Regions from separate parts of the Homo sapiens genome. Here all the other regions are linked to region 4. The links are contacts of gene promoters, found by promoter capture Hi-C in blood cells and fetal thymus (Javierre and others, 2016). All regions are on one chromosome and are shown on one strand. The core of a region is centred on a gene start or on the middle of the fragment in contact, and the rest is flanking DNA. Distances in the headings are between cores, read along the strand shown. Region 1 has its middle 76 kb from the start of MED9. Region 2 has its middle 78 kb from the start of NT5M. Region 3 has its middle 61 kb from the start of NT5M. Region 4 holds the start of MED9 (mediator complex subunit 9).

Region 1 (2,700 bases), core at 84-2,583, 76 kb after region 4:
AGCTCCCGAGCACTTTCATCCCCTGACAGGAACTCCATTCCCATGAGCTGTCACTCCCCACTCCTCCCTTCCTCCGGCCCCAGGCACCCAGCAGTCTGCTTCCTGTCTCTGTTGGTTTACCTATTCTGGATATTTCATATAAGTGGAATTGTATGTGATTTCTTGTGACTGCCATCCTCCCTCTGCATAGTGTTTTCAAGGTCCACTTGTCTTGTACCTTTTTGTGGCTGAATAATATCCCATCGTACAGGTATATCGTACCTCCGTGAGGACCTACAGGGCATCTGACACCTTATGTATGTAGGCTTAGTTTTCCCAACCACCCAAGAACTGGGCACTGTCGTTTGCATTTTTTAGATGAAGAGACTGAGGGTCCGAGAGGCTGCAGAACTTGTCCAGGGTCTGGAAGGTAAGAAGTGTCCAAGCTTGGATCCACATCTGCAGTTGTTACCACTCATCTGTGGATGCACAATTGGGCTGCTTTCACCTTTTGGCTGTTATGAATACTGCTGCTGTAAACACTTATGTATAAGTTTTTGTTCAAATACATGTTTTCTTTTTTTTTTTGAGATGGAGTCTTTCTCTGTTGCCCAGGCTGGAGTGCAGTGGCGCGATCTCGGCTCACTGCAAGCTCCACCTCCTGGGTTCACGCCATTCTCCTGCCTCAGCCTCCTGAGTAGCTGGGACTACAGGCGCCTGCCACCACGCCCAGCTAATTTTTTGTATTTTTAGTAGAGACGGGGTTTCACCGTGTTAGCCAGGATGGTCTCGATCTCCTGACCTCGTGATCTGCCTGCCTCGGCCTCCCAAAGTGCTGGGATTACAGGCGTGAGCCACCATGCCCGGCCACCTGTTTTCAATTCTTTTGTGTAGACACCTCGGAGTGGAATTGCTGGGCCATATGGTGACTCTAGGTTTAACTTGTGAAGAACATTTTTAAACATGTTCCGTGTGGGTGCATATTTTCTCTTTAACTAGAGAGCAGGGCTCTCTTGTTCTTTGGCCCCCTCCATCGTGGCCAGTCCTGGCTCAGCGTGCAGACAAGAGGCCCCCTGAGCTGTGGTGGCACCAGAGGAGTGAGTGTGTGGACCTCACTCCACCCCAAGTGCTGGGATGTTGACTCATGGTCTTGCCAGGCACTCACGTGACTGCTGGTGGGGACCCAGCCTACATATCCTCTGGGCCTTTCTTGGATGCCTCTCCACCTCTTGCTGCCCTCGGGTTCCCTCACTTCCCCCATTCACACTGGAGCTGACCTTGGTCTGATGTGTCTCCACAAGTCCCGCCTCCCCCACGGATGCCCTGTACAGCGGTACAGGCTGTGCACTGCCCAAGGGCATCCTGCCAAAGGCGCAGTGCTCATTGACATTCAGTCCATGCTCCGCTAGCCAAGCCCTGCAACCCTTGGGACTGCAGCCACCATTAGAGGGCGCTTTCTTCCTTCACACAACGCACCACATGGGCTAATGGCAGCCCCCAAGCCCTCGGTGGACCCAGCACTGACGGGATGTGCCCCTTGCTCACTCCCCTGGAAGGGGCAACTCTGCCCACTCTACATTCACTGATGACCTTCCTTCTCCCTGGGGACGTTCATACCCTCAACCTAGGCTCCAGATATTTTCTATGCCCCCTGAGGGGGTGGGTCCATGCCGCCAGTGGGGGTGCCCTGGTGGCCCACTGTAAAGGACTCTCTGCCCCTTACCCCATTCTCACTCCTGAGAGTTCTAGCACCAGATGCCCAGGACGTGCGTGTGTGCCTGCTCACTGGACAGAGGTTCCTGTGTAAACACTGCCATCGGGACCCCAGACACACGCTCCATGTGCACAGACATGCGCTCACGTGGGTGTGTGGGTTAGACATGACATACAGGGATCTGGCCTTCCCTTGCATTGAAACCTAGTTGGCGGGTTGGGAGGGTATGTGGTTAAATCCGAGCAAGAGACACAGACCCCATGAGTGTAATCACATGCCTAAACCAGGCCAGGAGACTCGGGCACACGATGTGGGTTTGTCTGCTATGTGGGCACTGGACTCTGGGAAGCCTGAGCCCCTTGGAGCCCCCGCTGGTGGGACAGGCTGGAGCTAGGAGCTTAGCAACTCGGGTTCCTGGAAGGTAGAGAAACATAAGAGCAAATCAGGAGACAAGAGGAGGCAAGGAAAGCTGGAGGGCAAAGAGGCCCCTGGAAGCCCCTCTAAGCCCAATTTCCCAGTGTTGACAACGAAAACAAAATCAAGCTTTCGAAGAACTAAAGTTCATTTCATTCAGGAGTCTGAGGACTCCAGACCACATCTACTGCCTCAGGGCAGTTCTGTTGAAGCCCACGGCTTACATACAGGTGGTGGAGGTTCAGCAAGTGCAAAATCACATCGGACTTGCTCAGAAGTTACGTTGAAGCAGCAGCCCATCAAGGTGTGGGTGTAAGAGCACCTCTGGTTATAGATGGCAGAGGCATCGTCATTAAGCCTGTCAGAAAGGCAAGGACTAGAGCTCTTCTCTTTTAAGGAATCAAGTGACTCAGGCAAGAGACGTGCGGGGCCGGGCGCTTCATCCTGCTTTGCCTTCAAAGCATCTTTCCAGAGAGCTGCACGTTGTCACAGAGTCAGGGGTTCAAGCAGAAATGAGCCAACGTGGCTTCTTACGCATGCTACTTCGTCTTACAGTGGGAAGAATAAAAATGCTTCATCCTCATCCCTGGGTG
Region 2 (2,700 bases), core at 55-2,554, 96 kb after region 4:
CACTTAACTTGCTGTGTGACTTTAGGCAAATCATTGAATCTCTCTGTGCCTACAAAATAGATATGCTGATAATAAAGCTATTTTGGGGGCTTGTTGAAAGAATTAAATGAGCTAATACTTGCAGAGCACTCAGAGACATGCCGGTTCATGGAAAGTCTCCTGTGAGTGTTGGCACTTTTCATTTTTAACTAGATTTTCAGGAAAAGCTTCACTGAGACGACATCAGACCTTGGACCTTGCAAGACAAATAGGTAGGGAGAGGGGCTCATGTTAGCCATGATCCACTGCAGACCAAGTTCTGGCCAGGGCTTCTACAGCCTTCCTCTTGGGGAATTCCCCCTAACAACTGTAAACTGGCTGATCTCATTGTTCTCAGTTTACAGAGGAAGAACTAAAGCTCAGAGAGGTTAAGAAACTTCCCTAGGGTCACACAGTTTACAAGTGGCAAAGCAAGATTTGCACTAAGTCTGTCTCAATGCCAAGCCTTCCTCCATAGCCTGTCGAGAACTCCTGGGGTGGCAGTTTCTTTGGAGCGATGATGGTTATTGTTCAAAGTTTCTGCAATCTAGTTACCTATGCTTTTTGCTTTTCCTTTACTTTCTTCTTCTCTCTTTTCTTTCCGTCTCTGTGTCTCTCTTTCATTCTTTCTTTTTCTTTTTTAATCCCATAAAAGGAGGAAGCCCAGTAATTCTACTTCTAGGCATTTATGCAAGAGAAATGCAAACATGTCCACACAAAGACTCACACACAAATGTTCACAACAGTTTTATTCATAACAGCCTCAAACTGGGAACAACTCAAAGGGTCAACAGATCCACGGGTAAATGAGCAGGCTCTATTCATGCAGTGGCTTACTACTTTGCAATAAAAAGGAATGGACTACCAATACCCAAGAAAACATGGATGAATCTCAAAATAAACATGCTTAGCAAAAGAAACCACGCCCCCTCCCCCGCCAAAAACAAAAACAAAAAAACATACTGTATGGCTCTATTTACATGAATGTCTAGAACAGGCAAAGCCAAGCGATGTTGGAAAAAAAAAAGACAGCAGCTGTTTCTAGGGACTGGAAGGAGCAAGGGTGAACTTTCCAGGCAACGGTGACACCCTCTGTCTTGAAGAGCTTGAGCCTCACATGTGTGTGCATTTGTCAAGATGCATTGATTGCTACCCTTAAAATTTGTCCATTTCATTATGTATAAATTTCACCCTAAAAAAAAAACAGTTAACAAATACTGAACTCCAGTGAGTGACGTGCATGCTAGCCTGTCTCGGGGTGCGGTGTCCATCTGCAACTTATTTTGCAATACATCAAAAATTTGATGGACAGATGAAGGGGCAGAGGGGCAGGGGGCAGACGGTACAGTTGTAGGTGGTGGCTGCAAAGGTGTTCTCTGTATTATCCTTTCAGCTTTTCTCATGTCTGCAAATGTTCATGATATAGCGCTGGGAATAGGGAAGGGAGGGGAAGAAAGGTGGGAAGGACAGGTTGTCCCATGCCTGGTCTCCTCCCTAGGGACCCAAAGCCTTTTCTCACACGCATAGGGGACCCCTGCATGTGCTCTAGAGACTCAGACCCTTAGAGCTCCCCAAGAGACTAATGGCACCTCCTTTGAGCTTGGCAAAGGCCCTGAGGAAGGGACCCCACAGGCTTTCCCCACGGGAGAAAAACACTCCTGGCAGCCTCAGGAGGCCGGTGGAGGCAGAGCAGCCCACTGTGGGGAAGCCTTCTTTCAACCTCTCTCCCCACTGCCTCCCCCTGTCCTGCCTGACGCCCAGGGTTTCTGCCACACAACCCTCAGGACAGAAGCAGAGACCGTGAAGGCTGGAAGCGCACTCAGGGGTCTCCTCTTCTTACCCAACCTCCACATTTTGCAGATGGGGAAATGGAGGCGCAGGCTGGGGCCTCATCTCTCTTCACCTCCTGACGAATGGGGTCCCAGAGCATCTCCCTCAGTATCGCTGGGAGGATGACCAGGGCCCACAGTGCCGAGGGCGGCTGATGGAGCATGTGCTGTTGTTGCTGCCCATTTTGCAGTTGAGGCTCAGAGCCTTGCCCAAGGGTGCACACCAGGCAGCAGAAGCAGGGTCTGAACACTGAGCAGAGGTGAACAGGAGGGGGCTGATGGTGGAGGGTGAGCTGTGGGGAGTGCAGTACCTTACACTCGGGTTCTAGCCCAGAGGAGGGGGAAGGGCTGGGCCTGAGGACAGTGGGGAGCTTGTGCCCCCATCCTGGGGCTCTTGACGAGCCATCAGCGCTGACATTTATAACTGTGCCTAATGTGCCGGCTGAACCCGAGGGAGCCTTTCCCTCTCTAATCTGCTGGCATTACCCAGCCTTGAAATTATAGCAATTACCCCCAGAGCTGGGTAAATGGCTGTGGGAGGAGGGGAAAGCTTCAGCCCTCTACTCACGGAGGTCGGGAGTCGGGTGGGGCAGGCACTCAGGTTCGCTCTCCCTCCCTCTTTCTCTCCCCGCCTTCCTCCTCCTGATCACCTCTCTCAGGCCCCTCTGGCTTTCTTCATTCTCATTCTGTCCTCAATACACAGCCCTTAATAGACTCATCATTTGTCTACTGGAGAAACTGAGGCTGAGGCTTACGTGTGCTGCCCAAGGTCCCCCAGGAAGGAATGGAGCCAAGATGCACATCCAGGAGCTCTGACTGTAAGTCCCAGAAACAACCCCATGGAAACAAGTGC
Region 3 (2,700 bases), core at 72-2,571, 110 kb after region 4:
ACTCCCCCTTTTAAAAGATGTTAAGGCCAGGCGCGGTGGCTCACGCCTGTAATCCCAGCACTTTGGGAGGCCGAGGCGGGCAGATCACCTGAGGTCAGGAGTTCGAGACCAGCCTCAACATGGAGAAACCCCGTCTCTACTAAAAATACAAAATTAGCCAGGCGTGGTGGTGCATGACTGTAATCCTAGCTACTCAGGAGGCTGAGGCAGGAGAATTGCTTGAACCTGGGAGGTGGAGGTCGCAGTGAGCCAAGATCGCACCATTGCACTCCAGCCTGGGCAACAAGAGCGAAACTCCATCTCAAAAAACAATAAATAAAATAAAATAAAATATGTTAAAACTGATGCCTGGCACAGGTGACCCTGAATGTGAGCTGCAGATTAAAGACAAGGGCTGCCAACTTCTGTTCCCAAGACCTCCCCAACACCTTGCGAAGGGCTTGCAGGAGACCCTTCCTCCTAGTTAGAAAGTGGAGCTTTCCAGGGGAATTAGCCAGATGAAATGAGAAGGAGCAGGTGGGGAACAGAGGAGGGAGCCTGCCCCCACCACACCCATTCCCTGCAGAAAAACGGCTCTTGAATCACCCAAAGTCTAATGAGGGGAATCCAACTCATCCCAACTTCTCTTTTCACATAGTGGAAACGGAGGCACAGGAGGAGAAGGAGGCTGGCAAAGTTCACACAGAGGTAAGTGGCAAAGCTGGGGCCTGACTTGGGTTTCCTGGGACCCTGACCTTGCTGCAAAACGCTGCACCCTCCCGGGGATGGGGACAAAACGCATGTCATCCTGCTTTCCGAACAAAACAGAGGCACCAGGCTTTTACATGTTAAACATTTGGTTTCTTTTTAAACGTTTTCGTCAGCTGTCCTCTGGGCTTTAAAAATAGAGCCAGTCAGACGCAGGCAGGAGCTAAGTCAGGGAGCCAGCCTGAATATTCAGCTCCAGGGTACAAGAGCACCACGAAAGGGCAAAGCCTGATTAATTAACCCATGTCCCCAAGCAGACACAGAGCCGGCGCCTCGTTCCACTTCCTGTGGCTTCCTCCAGGCCTGGGAATCTGGGGAAGGGAGGCCCTGCCTGAAGAGAAGCAGGGTACAGTGTCCAGGCCCAGCAGGACCTAGGCCGAGTCTCTGGGATCTGGAAGAAATGGGTCAGAATTTCCCCAGTGAGGTGAGATGGGCCAGCTACCTTGGGTTTGCCTCTTCCAGGAAGCCCTCCAAGTTTTCAAAGTGCTTCACTTCCCAGGAGAGCCATAGAGAACTACTTTCTCTTTCTTCCTGCTGCTTGGCTCCTTCAAATACACACTTTGCCCCAACCAAGCGGCTGCCCTACCCCTCCCTGGAGTTCAAGGCTACAAAAGGGCTACAGGGTCCTTGACCTTGCCTAACCCTGGGTTTCCCCTCGTTGTGAGATTGGCTGGTTGGTTCTCACAGCTGTTTATTTACCCATCCTGCAGGTGCTCACTCTGTAGGGTGCAGACGAGGCTGAGAAGGGCGGGCTGTCACCTTGAGGGTGTTTATAATCACCCAGGAACAGGGGAACAGGGTGTGTGCATCACTGTGGCAGGAGGCTGATGACCCAAGATGCCATAACAAGATGAAGCCACAGGGGAGGGCCAGGCGGAGACAGGCGAGGCCAACAGAGCCCCTGCCACCTTGCCTGCTCTCTCACCTGCCCCGCCCCTGGCTGCTTGCACAGCCTCATGGACCTGCTCACTCCCTCCAAGGCCACCTCCCTCCTGCCCTGGGTTGTCACGCCCAACCCCCCTCTTCCCCATCACCACCACCTCCCCGGGCTAGCTGATTCCTACTGCTCCTTCATGTCCCATTTAAATCTTCCTCCCTTCCTTAGGAGGTGGCAACGAGTGAGTCAACAAGGAAGGGCTCAGGAGAGGACAGTCCAAGTTTAAGCAGAAGAGGCTCTTTGAGAGACCTGAGACTTAGAGATGCCATGAGAGGGCTGAGCTTGCACACAGGGTCAGGAGGAAGAGTGTCTGGGAGAGGAAAGAACAGGCACAGGAGCTTGGAGGGGAGCAGGGAGGCCCAAGAGGCGGTGCCAATGGACAAACGATGAGGACCATGGTGAGGACTTGGGCTTCTGCCCTAGTAAAGTGTGAGCCATGAGAGGGTTTTGAGCAGAGGAGGGAGGACAGTTGCCTTAGGCTGGAGGAGAACAGACCCTAGGGGGCAAGGGTGGGAGCAGGAGCCAGCTAGGAGCTGACCCAGGGCCACAGTGATGGCGGGTAGATCACTTGAGGTCAGGCATTCAAGCCCAGCCTGGCCGGTGAAACCCCGTCTCTACTAAAAATACAAAAAATTAGCTGGGCGTGGTGGCAGGTGCCTATAATCCCACCTACTTGGGAGGCTGAGGCAGAAGAATTGCTTGAACCCGGTAGGCGGGGGTTGCAGTGAGCCGAGATCGCGCCACTGCACTCCAGCCTGGGCGACAGAGTGAGACTCCGTGTCAAAAAAAAAAGAAAAGAAAAGAAATCTTATTCAGCCACTAAAAGGAAAGGCCAGGCACATACTACCAGGTGAATGAACCTCGACTCCATGATCCTAAGTGGCAGAAGCCAGCCGCGCAAGCCCACAGAGCACCTGATTCCATTTATACGCAATGTCCAGAATAGGTAAACCTATGAATAAGCAGGGTGGCGCAGGGCCTGGGGGAGGGGACAGGGAGTGAGCGCTGGTGGGTCT
Region 4 (2,700 bases), core at 162-2,661:
AGACCTTCACGTTGTAACAATTCCATTTCAGTAAAACAGTGAAGAGCACATTCATGTTCACCTGAATGTTACTGGAATCGTAATTTTCTTTTAATTTACTTTGTTTTGGTCTTTAATGGTTGAGTAAGAGTTACAAGCCTAGGGGTTTACACCTAGTATCACGTGGATATACAGTGAAGTAACATAATGAAAATAATTTACAGCCTGGGCAACATGGTGAAACTCCATCTCTACAAAAAATACAAAAATTCGCTGGGTGCCATGGCTCATGCCTGTGGTTCCGGTTACTTGGGAGGATGAGGTGGGAGGATGGCTTGAGGCCAGGAGGTTGAGGCTGCAGTGAGCCGAGATCACGCCACTGTACTCCAGTCTGGGTGACAGAGCGAGACCCTCTCTCAAAAAAAATAATAATTTAGGCAAACATAAGGATCAGTGAGACTTTTGTGTTTTTGTTTTTGGTTTTTCCTCTACAGAGTCACTTTGAAAACTCAGGCTACCCTGAAGGCTGGCCAAAAGGATGACAACAATTATTTCCTTTGGTACTGTTAGAACAAAGTCAGTACAAGTGGGTCTAATCATCTGAGGCAACTTCTGTGTTTCTGCTTAGTCTAATGTTTCCCATCGCCACCACTCCCGTCTCAATCTTTTTGAATTGTGGGTTATTCCCAATCATGTCTTTTTTTCCTTCTATCTAAACCTTTGGGGGTGAAAAGTTGGCCCCTTTTACTGCGTCCATCCCGTAGCACTTGGCACAGGGAAGATGATGCTTATCTGTTGAGTTTGCTGAACTAAGGAACTAAAGTGAGTATTACCAACATTAAAGGTGAGAAAACTGAGGCTTAAAGAGATTTAATTTGCTCAAGATCGCTGGGATGAACATTTGAGCCGCTGGACAAGAGTCTGCATTTAGTCTCTAAGCTGGCTTCATTCTTAAGGATATCGCACCTCTCGAGGCTCAAATCGTTTGCTTAACTCATGGAATGTCTCTGTGGTCTTGGGAAAGGCCTCTTCCCGCTCTGGGTCTGAGTTTCCCCATCTGTGAAACGGGGGCGTGCCCCAGAGCGCCAAGGCCTCTTGCAGCTCTGAAACGGCTGAGAGGAGAAGCTGGAGGGAGTATGGGGCCTGGTCCTCTCCTAGGTTCTTACCATTTGATGATGTTGTGAACCAAAGGTAAAAAGGAGTAGTTCTCTTCCTCCCTCGCGCGGGCAGGTGACTGAGGCCGTGGCGCCGGCGACTGCTGCGGTTGAGGCGCAGGGACCGGCGGCGGCTGAGGAGGCGGCAGCGGCTTGGTGTCAGGCAGCGGCTGGTCGGACGTTGGCGGCAATACATCCTCCGCCTGTCGCCCGGCTGCCACCCCAGCAGAGGCCATGGCTCCGGGGGTAGGTTAGCCAGAGGTCGGGTCGCCAAAAGCGTCGCGCACTCTACACGTCACCACCGCGCGCCCTGCAGGGGCGGGGTGTGGAGGAAGGCTCTGAGCGTGCGCACTGGGCAGTCGGCGGGAAAAGGCGCGGAGGCGGGGGTGGGGAGGCTGTTGCTAGGCAACGGGCCGTGGGTGGGTCTGGGGTGCCTGGATTTGGATTGTGAGTCAAGATTGCTAAATTATTAAATAGTGAGAAATAGGGGTTTATTTCAGAAATAACAATCTTTTTTTTTTTTTTGAGACGGAATTTCGCTCTTGTTGCCCAGGCTGGAGTGCAGTGGCGCGATCTCGGCTCACCGCAACCTCCGCCTCCCGGGTTCAAGCGATTCTCCTGCCTCAGCCTCCCTAGTAGCTGGGATTACAGGCATGCACCACCACGCCCGGCTAATTTTATATTTTTAGTAGAGACGGGGTTTCTCCATGTTGATCAGGCTGGTCTCGAACTCCCCACCTCAGGTGATCCGCCCGTCTCGGCCTCCCAAAGTGCTGGGATTACAGGCGTGAGCCACTGCACCCGGCCAGAAATAACAATCTTCTTATTCCTATTCACACGATGAAGAGGGCCCCAAAGCCACAAACACAGGAAGCCTTGAGATTAGTAAGGTGCAGCCTGGCCCAGTGCACCCAAGTCTGGAGAGGAGCCACTGGACCTGTGGGAGGCGTAGACAGCACTTACCTGCTGGGTGAGGCACCAAACCCGGCCCAGCCCACAGTGCAAGACATCGAGACCTCGAGTTTAGCCCTAAGGACGCAGAGGCAAAGGGATTGCGGTCCCTTCAATGCTGCAAGGTTGCTTAGAAAGAGTCTAATAATTCAACTCAACACACATTTAGTATGCACCTGCTGGATGGCCACCTGTATGTGTGGTTGCAGGCAGGCTGTCCTTGCTTTCAGTACAAGGTAGAGGGGATTGGTGCCAGGAGTAAATATCATATCCTGGAAGAACGACAAGGTCAGGTACTCTCCATACCTTCGGGCCAGTTCCCCAAGCCCCTAGGTCCCAGTTTCCTCACCCCTAAAATCATATTTAGTTCAGATTCATGGCACAGCCTAAACTGCATTCTAACTTCACATGCGTGGCTGACCCCAAAAGGTCTTGTTGGCATGAGGACTCCCTAGGATCATAGGCCAAAGATGGGTTTATGGTTATGCTTCTCAAAACAAGTTTGATATGAGGGCTGTGTAGTAATTTTCCGGGCAATGGGGACACCCACCCCAAGCTTAGCTAGTGAGTAGAAGACATGAGTGGGGAAAGCTGTCAACTGGTGAGCCCATTCTGC

What was found. Contacts are between HindIII fragments. The CHiCAGO score rates a contact against its expected background, and 5 or more counts as called.
Region 1: a fragment that was not itself captured here is called in contact with the fragment with the promoter of MED9 in region 4 in 3 of 17 cell types (fetal thymus, endothelial precursors and erythroblasts); the score reaches 6.7 in fetal thymus.
Region 2: a fragment that was not itself captured here is called in contact with the fragment with the promoter of MED9 in region 4 in 6 of 17 cell types (endothelial precursors, M2 macrophages, erythroblasts and 3 more); the score reaches 7.1 in endothelial precursors.
Region 3: a contact is called between a fragment that was not itself captured here and the fragment with the promoter of MED9 in region 4, in 7 of 17 cell types (M2 macrophages, endothelial precursors, fetal thymus and 4 more). The highest score is 8.2, in M2 macrophages.

The regions. Positions count from the first base shown.
Region 1 is chr17:17,400,097-17,402,796 of GRCh38, reverse strand. No RefSeq gene overlaps it. Among named protein-coding and RNA genes, the nearest start is that of MED9, 76 kb to the left of the region's middle. The HindIII fragment of the contact is 1,811 bases long and covers 428-2,238 here.
Region 2 is chr17:17,379,944-17,382,643 of GRCh38, reverse strand. No RefSeq gene overlaps it. Among named protein-coding and RNA genes, the nearest start is that of NT5M, 78 kb to the right of the region's middle. The HindIII fragment of the contact is 2,191 bases long and covers 209-2,399 here.
Region 3 is chr17:17,362,679-17,365,378 of GRCh38, reverse strand. No RefSeq gene overlaps it. Among named protein-coding and RNA genes, the nearest start is that of NT5M, 61 kb to the right of the region's middle. The HindIII fragment of the contact is 5,308 bases long and covers 1-2,700 here.
Region 4 is chr17:17,475,711-17,478,410 of GRCh38, reverse strand. It overlaps MED9 (mediator complex subunit 9), which reads right to left and starts at 1,411. Exons shown (of 2, transcript NM_018019.3): 1 at 1,146-1,411. The coding sequence starts at 1,369. RefSeq lists an enhancer at 1,308-1,407. The HindIII fragment of the contact is 9,122 bases long and covers 1-2,642 here.